Linked DNA regions of Homo sapiens: region 1 is linked to region 2. Evidence: promoter capture Hi-C in 16 types of primary human blood cells and fetal thymus (Javierre and others, 2016). All regions are on one chromosome and are shown on one strand. Each heading gives the region's core, a stretch centred on a gene start or on the middle of the fragment in contact. The rest is flanking DNA. Distances are from core to core; before and after follow the strand shown.

Region 1 (3,936 bases), core at 927-3,426, 140 kb after region 2:
AAACACAGATGCTGGAGAGGTTGTAGAGAAAAAGGAACACTTTTACACTGTTAGTGGGCGTGTAAATTAGTTCAACTATTGTGGAAAACAGTGTGGAGATTCCTCAAAGATCTAGAGGCAGAAATACCATCTGACCCAATAATCCCATTACTGGGTATATACCCAAAGGAACATAAATCATTCTATTATAAAGACACATGCATGCATATGTTCATTGCAGCACTATTCACAATAGCAAAGACATGAATCAATCCAAATGCCCATCAATGATAGACTGGATAAAGAAAATGTGATACTGAAATATATATATATACACACACACACCATGGAATTCTATGCAGCCATAAAAAGAAATGAGATCATGTCCTTTGCAGGGATATGGATGGAGCTCGAAGCAGTTATCCTCAGCAAACTAACACAGGAGCAGAAAACCAAACACTGCATGTTCTCACTTACAAGTGGTAGCTGAATGATGAGAACACATGGACACATAAGTGGAACAACACACACTGGAGCATATCATGGGGGTGGTAGGGAGAGGGAGAACATCAAGAAGAATACCTGGTGAATGCTGGGCTTAATACCTAGGTGTAGGGATGATCTGTGCAGCAAATCACCATGGCACACATGGTTTATGTATGTAACAAACCTGCACATCCTGCACATGTACCGCTGAAATTAAAATAAAAGTTGAAGATTTTTTTAAAAGATAGCATTTACAATAATATTAAAAATATAAATAAGATTGTAACACCTGCATGAGAAATGTCATAAACCTTTCTTTAAAATATTAATGAAGGTCAAAATAGATGGAAATATATATATCAAAGACAATATTATAAGGATATCATTCTTTTCCAATTGATTTGTAGATCCAGTGCAATTCAAATGAATATCCAAAATAGGTGTTTTGTTTTTGTTTTTGTTTTTGTTTTCGTTTTCGGTCAGAGTCTTGCTCTGTCACCCAGGCTGGAGTGCAATGGCACAGTCTCAGCTCACTACAACCTCTGCCTCCCAGTTCAAGCAATTCTCATGCCGCAGCCTCCCAAGTAGCTGAGATTACAGGAACTCACCACCATAACCAGCTAATTTTTGTATTTTTAGTAGAGACGGGGTTTTGCCATGTTGACCAGGCTGGTCTCCAACTCCTGACCTCATGGGATTCACCCACCTCAGCCTCCCAAAGTGCTGGGATTACAGGCATGAGCCACCACGCCTGGCCCGAAACAGGTCTTTTGAATAACTTGATAAACTGACTAAAATTTATATGAAAATACAAAATCCTAAGATAAACAAAGTTCAAGAGATTAAGTGTGGCTTTGGAGTGGGGGTATACAGTGGAGTGAAATAAAGGGCTCAGAAGCAATCCCACATAATTAAGCAAAATTATTTTGCAGTTAAATAGAAGAGGAACTCATTAATAAATAGGTCTGGAACCACTGAAAAATGAAAAAGGATCCTTATGTTATACCTTACCAAAAAATCAACATCAGGTGGTTTTAGGGTGTAAAGGTAAGCCAAAACTTCAAAACTTTTAGGAGAAAACAGATCCAAGATGTCCTCATGTTCCTAGATAACATAGTGTAGTGTGACTAAGAACAAAAACTCTGAAGCCAAGTTCAAATCTTGTCTCTACCACATAATAAATGAGTGACCTTGTACATGTAACCTAATCTCTGTCTCCATTTCATCCTTAAATGATGGTAATAACTGTACTTACTTCATAGGGTGTATATGATGATAAAGTATATACAAATTACTTAAAAATAGCACCTGGAATTAAGTAGTACTCTAGGTTATAACTAACCCTGTTACTATTATTATAGTGCTATTGCACTCTTTCTCTTGTGCCATGATTAGTTTCTTCTGTGCATAAAAGGTCAAAAAGAGAAAGGAAGAAATCCCTTTTTAATTCCTCACTCTGATGATTCTACCCTTCATGATTAAATATATGCAGAAGCTCTGATCCTTAAGTTTCTATTGCTTCTAGATGAACATGGGACTCACTATCAAGGGTCTAATCAGTTTGGGGCCTTCAGCTTCATGGCTGGGTACCCAAGCACTCACTGTTCAACTCAACACCTAGTAATGTCCAGTCCTGGCCCTTGGGGTAGGTGAGCTCAACCGTCTCAAGTATCAAGCCCAAAATATAACATCAGGTGATACCACAACTATCCTGCCTGCTGCTTGCTGCACCATGAAGTCTGCCAAGCTGGGATTTCTTCTAAGATTCTTCATCTTCTGCTCATTGAATACCCTGTTATTGGGTGGTGTTAATAAAATTGCGGAGAAGATATGTGGAGACCTCAAAGGTATGAAGCTAAGGCAGAAAATAAATCCAAAGGTCAATTATGAATGAGAGAGAAGGTATTGGGAGAAAAGTGTGTTATCTAGGTAGTCCAGGAAGGTCTTCCTTTCATGACAATACCCATAGACACTTAGTCCCTTGACTCAGGGCATTACTTACACTAGGGGTCCTCTGGATGTTTGATGAGAAAAAACAGAAATGACACAAAGTCCTTTCCAGATGGAGACCTCTTTTATAGGAGGTCCAAAGGACTGGAAGTATTTTGAATCAGAGGTTGTGTGACAAATTTCAAAGATCCCAGACCATTGATGATTATGTATTGGGATGAGAGAGAAAGGGGGTTGGAGACAGAGCAAATTAAGACATTTTCAGTATCTGGGCTATGGACATATACAGAACTCTTGGACAGATGATTCCTGTTTAGAGGAGCTCACAATGTAAATGTGAGAGGCAATGAGACTTTCTTCCATAGATAGTGTGTGAAGGCTCAGCGCTTCCAGGGGACGAGAAAGTAGCACAGTTTATACCGTAAGTCAGACACTTCAAGTTCTGGACCTGTTCACTTAGCAGATATGTGCCCTTGGACAAGTCACTCAACCACTTATTATTCTCTTAGTCTCAGTTTCCCCATGTGTAAAATGAAGATCAGAAAAGTGCCTGCTGCAGAGGGTGTTTGTGAGTATGAAATAAGATTATGCACATAACTTTACCAGAGAGTAAATTCCAGGCTGGCTGCTTGAGTAAGGTGGATTGTCAATACAACCATGATTGTGGCTGTTCCAACCACTTACTACCCAACTCTTAACAATAAAAACAGAGGGTTTGCCTCTGAGAAGGCAAGAAAGGAGAAGATGACGGGGTATGAGGATGAACGAGCATCACCCCAAGGTTATGCATTTTAGCATTTTAGTATGCATCCTGCTTTAAAGATAGCAGCAGCCATGGTTACTTAAATTTTGAAGTATAGGTAGTATAGTGAATGTATGAAACTGGGGAGGAGGCACTCTGAATTGCATGTCCTATGTGGGCAATTAAAAGGAAAGGAAGATGATGTGGGGAAGCAGGAGGATACTGTACTTTAATAAACTGTAAGATAGGAAATGTAGGGAAGCTCATCGCCCTGCACAAGCTAGTGGTGGAACCTCCTTTTTCACTGATCACTACTTCTCCTTCTCCAATACACTGCTCACGACAACAACCTGGAATTTTAACCAATTTGCATTGTGCAAGGGCAACATTTCCAAGCAACTCTAACTCCAAGAGAAAACCACATCTTTCAGAGTCCTTGAATATGAGAATAGTTCCAGGCTAAACGTAGGAATTTTTAAGGGCCCATAAAGACAAGTTCTCCTGCTGAGTCCTTACCAATTCCCACTAACTCAATGGGAACCTCTCATGCAGATCCCTGCAAATTGGACATGAATTTTGGAAGCTGCTATGAAGTTCACTTTAGATATTTCTACAACAGAACCTCCAAAAGATGTGAAACTTTTGTCTTCTCCGGCTGTAATGGCAACCTTAACAACTTCAAGCTTAAAATAGAACGTGAAGTAGCCTGTGTTGCAAAATACAAACCACCGTAAGGAATCTAATCCTGTCCTTGGTCCTTGGGGGTAGTAAAAGAAGAG
Region 2 (4,511 bases), core at 790-3,289:
ATTACTAAAGTGCTGTCAAGTGTCCTAAGAGCAAGAGGCCTGCAATGTGCCTTACAAAGAAATTACTTGTGTCAGATAAGCTTGGTTCAGGCATGAGTTACAGGGCTTTCAGCCACAATTCAATGTTAATGAAACAATAATATATATTACATAAGGTGTCTTTTTTTTTTTTTGAGATGGAGTCTCACTCTGTCGCCAGGCTAGAGTACAGTAGTGCGATCTCGGCTCGCTGCAACCTCCGCCTTCTGGGTTCAAGTGATTCTCCTGCCTCAGACTCCCGAGTAGCTGGGATTACAGGCACCCACCACCACGTCCTGCTAATTTTTTGTATTTTTAGTAGAGATGAGGTTTCACTGTGTTGGCCAGGATGGTCTCAATCTCCTGACCTAGTGATCCGCCTGCCTCAGCCTCCCAAAGTGCTGGGATTACAGGCATGAGCCACCGCGCCTGGCCTATATACATGTTTAAAAAATAAAGACAGGGCCAGCACGGTGGCTCATGCCTGTAATCCCAGCACTTTGGGAGGCTGAGGCAGGCAGATCACCTGTGGTCAGGAGTTCAAGACTAGCCTGGCCAACACGGTGAAACCCTGTCTCTACTAAAAATACAAAAATTAGCCTGGAGTGGTGGTGCACACCTGTAGTCCCAGCTACTCAGGAGGCTAAGGCAGGAGGATCCCTTGAACCCAGAAGGTGGAGGTTGCAGAGAGCCGAGATCACACCACTATGCTCCAGCCTGGGGGACAGAGAGAGATTCCCTCTCAAACAAAACAAAAAAAATAAAAATAAAAATAAATAAATAAATAAAGTATGTAGAGTTTTATTTAATAATTAACCACACAGATTAAAAAATAGAAAGTAGCCAGCTTCCCAGAAGTCTTCTGTGTGCACCTTCTAATTACCATCTCTGTCATGTGTCTTCAGACAGAAGCACATATAAAAACAAGGTTATGTATTGATCAAATGATGAAAATGTGTGGTCAGAGGCTTGCATTTTCCCTAGGAGCAATGGCTCAGTATTTGCTAATCCGGTGTTCACAGTGACTTTACAGAACATAACTACCCCCAAGTAATGGGAATCAACTGTATTTTTATTACTTTGGTGTACAAAGAACTTTGAGCTCTCCATGGCTTGCCACAACAAAAGACTTCCTAGGCAAATTGTCTACTGCTTTGTTCCAAGTGGGGGCTCTACTTGAGGCTGTGGGACCAAGACAAAAGAAGCAGCCTCTATGTGGATTAGGCCCCTTCTCCTGGCAGAGAGAAAGCACAAAGGAGCTGGCAGAAACTCACAGTGCAAAACTCACTATGCATATGCTACATCTGCTCATACTCCAATAGGCAAAGCACAGCTGACAGCAAACCCAAAGTCAATGAGACAGAAATGTGTCTTCCTTCCACGGGCCGTTCTAAAATTGCAAGGTAATGGACAGGAGTGTCCTCTTAAAGGAAAGATGGAATGAATAGTTGTGAATAATAATATAACCCATCACTACTACTCCTGTTTTAATTTTTTGAAAATGTTTAGATACATATTATATGCTTGTTTAATTTAAAATATCAAACTTTACCTTGCTCAGGCTCTGCCCCTCCACACTGGGCCACTCAAAGATGCCCAACTTACCCTACTTGGGCTCCAACAGCCATATCAGGTTGCATTCGAGACCAGCCTGGCCAACATGGTGAAACCCCGTCTCTACTAAAAATGCAAAACTTAGCCGAGCGTGGTGGCGCACACCTGTAGTCCCAGCTACTAGGGAGGCTAAGGCAGGAGAATCGCTGGATGCATTGATGCCCTCTTCACCCTGCTTAGGCTCTGATTCCTGACACAAGACAGCTCTGTTCTGTGGAACCCCTCCTCACTATGCTTGGCCCAACTCCCCACAGCCGACCACTCTAACTTCTATGTATCCTCCTCATCTCCTTGGGCTCAGACCCTCCATGTCTGGCTACCCACCCCCATAGACACCCTCCTCACCCTCCTTCAGTTCGGACAGTCCACATCAGGCCTCTTCCCTATGGAGACAGCTTCCTCACTTTGCTCCAGCTCTAAGGCTCCTCCCTCATCTGCTCCCCTGCCTGGACACTCTGCTCACCCCACTCAGGCTCTCATTCTATGCCAGTCTGCCCCTCTAGCCCCAGGGGGATGCCTTTCTCAACATGGGCAGGCTGGTCTCCATGCTATGCTGCTTCTTGCCTCTTCACTGGGCATTCTCATCTACCCCTGGCTCCAGCACACCAGGCCAGCAGCCCTCCTACAGAGACACCCTCCTTGACCTGTTCCAGCTCTGATGCCCACACGGAGCCAGCCGTGGCTCCCTTCCCCTTGGGGCAAACGCCTACCTTGCTAAATGTGCCTATCTAATGGCTTTAGGACTGACTAGTTCAGTTAGTAAAGAAAAGGAGACAAAACAAGGAAGAGCTACTTTTCCTTTTTGTAAAAATATGTATTGTGAAAAACACCACAAAAATAAAAATATGCATGAAACATTAATGTTCAGTCTAACGAACTATTACGAAGTGACCACTCATTAAACTATCACTGAAATCAAGTAAAAAATTTCCAACACTTTCTGCTCCTTTTTCATTCTTTTCCAGTCACAACCCCTTCCTATGCTCTCAAAGGCAGCTAATGGTAGTGACTTTCTTTTTCATATTTTCAAGATCATATGTATTCCCCTAAATATGTTTTTGTTTTTGTCTGCTTCTGTTCTATATCAATGGAGTCACTTGGAATGTATTCTTTTGTGCCTGGCTTTTTGTGTTCAACATTATATTAATGAATTCCATCCACATTGTTTTGTGTAGCTGTATTTTGTCAATTTTCATTGCCATGCCATCTATTGTATGACTACACACATCTCTACTGAGTTGTTTATAGTTTGCAGCTGTTAAGAATAAAGCTGCTGTGTGTATACATAGCATGTATGTAATAACGTTCTGCACGTGTATCCCAGAACTTAAAGTATAATAAAAAACTAGGATTTTCTAAATAAAAATGTTATTTATATCAACATGTAATAAGTTTATTACGTTAAATGAATTAATAAATGTTTTTAAATGTCAAAAAAATTTTAAACAATTTACTCATGTAAAAAAAAGAATAAAGCTGCTATGAACACTCTGTGTGCATTTGCTGGAGCACGTGGGCAGGTGTTCTTGTAGGTTATACATTCAGCATAGGGAATGATGGGTTACAGGGTATGCATATCTTCAGCTTCTCAAGCTGATACCAAATTATTTCCCAAAGAGTTTGTACCAATTCACAGCCTTGCCATTGGTAGTTGAGAGTTCCTATTGTTCCATAACCATGCTGTATGTAGAACTGTCACAATCTTTTCATTTTTACCATCCTGCTACGAGTATGGAAATACATCACTGTGGACTTAATTTAAATTTCTTGACTACTAATGAGGTTGAGCACCTTTTTAGATCTTTATTAACCACTTGGCTATCCTCTCTTTGATTTTCTTTTCAAATGTTTTGCTCATTGTTCTCTGGGGTTTTCTGACTTTTTCTTGCTGATTTCTACTGGAGTCATGTCTTTCCTCAGTTATATGTATTATGAACATCTTCCAGGATCAAGGGTAATCTTCTAAAACCCTTATTGGCTTGTCTTTTACCTTTTGAATGAAAGTTTTTATCACGTGCCCTTCCTACCCCAAAGACAGAATCAGGAATCCTTTTTCTATGTTCCTTTCCTACAATACAATAACTCGCTACAATACAATACAGTAACTCCAATATCTGAAGTCTTTGTGGACCTCTGCTGTTGGTTGTTTTTCTTGATTTTTTTCATCTTGTTTTCTTAAGATCTGTGTGATTTTTTTTATTGTGAGAGTACATATTTAATGGAAGTTTATGTATGTAACAATACTTTGTGGAATTTCTTGGATTCCTGTGTTTAAAGGAGAATTCTTCCGAATCAACTTGTCCTCAATTTTTCCCTAACAACTCATGCAATTTTGAATTAAATTCATAGCTTTAGATTTATCAGACCATGCACATGTGCCAATTTTCCTACTCTGCTCTTATGAAAGGAAACAAGGTTGCAGTTACAAATTCTCAGAATAGTCTTTTTTTTTTTTTTTGAGATGGAGTCTCGCTCTGTTCCCCAGGCTGGAGTGCAGTGGCACTATCTCAACTCACTGCAACCTCCTTCTCCCGGGTTCAAGTGATTCTCCTGCCTCAGCCTCCTGAATAGCTGGGATTACAGACACGCACCACCACGCCTGGCTAATTTTTTTGTATTTTTAGTAGAGATGGGGTTTCACCATGTTGGTCAGGCCGGTCTCGAACTCCTGGCCTCGTGATCCACCCACCTCTGCCTCCCAAAGTGCTGGGATTACAGGCATGACCCACTGCACCCAGCCCAGAGTAGTCTTTTTTCCTGTTTTGTTCAGAGCCAAAGCCAAGACAGGCAAGTTCCTTCACCACAGTTGTGCATGTGTGTGTTTCTGTTTCATCCATTTATTTCTGTTTCATCCATTTATTAAGGTGTCAGCATTTGGT

Evidence for each region. Contacts are between HindIII fragments. The CHiCAGO score rates a contact against its expected background, and 5 or more counts as called.
Region 1: the fragment with the promoter of SPINT4 here is called in contact with the fragment with the promoter of WFDC8 in region 2 in 4 of 17 cell types (M2 macrophages, M1 macrophages, M0 macrophages and 1 more); the score reaches 6.6 in M2 macrophages.

What each region holds. Positions count from the first base shown.
Region 1 is chr20:45,720,171-45,724,106 of GRCh38, forward strand. It overlaps SPINT4 (serine peptidase inhibitor, Kunitz type 4), which reads left to right and starts at 2,177. Exons shown (of 3, transcript NM_178455.3): 1 at 2,177-2,312; 2 at 3,710-3,887. The coding sequence starts at 2,198. The HindIII fragment of the contact is 5,556 bases long and covers 1-3,838 here.
Region 2 is chr20:45,577,245-45,581,755 of GRCh38, forward strand. WFDC8 (WAP four-disulfide core domain 8) reads right to left here and starts at 2,040. Exons shown (of 6, transcript NM_130896.3): 1 at 1,978-2,040. The coding sequence starts at 2,003. RefSeq lists an enhancer at 855-1,790. The HindIII fragment of the contact is 6,723 bases long and covers 79-4,511 here.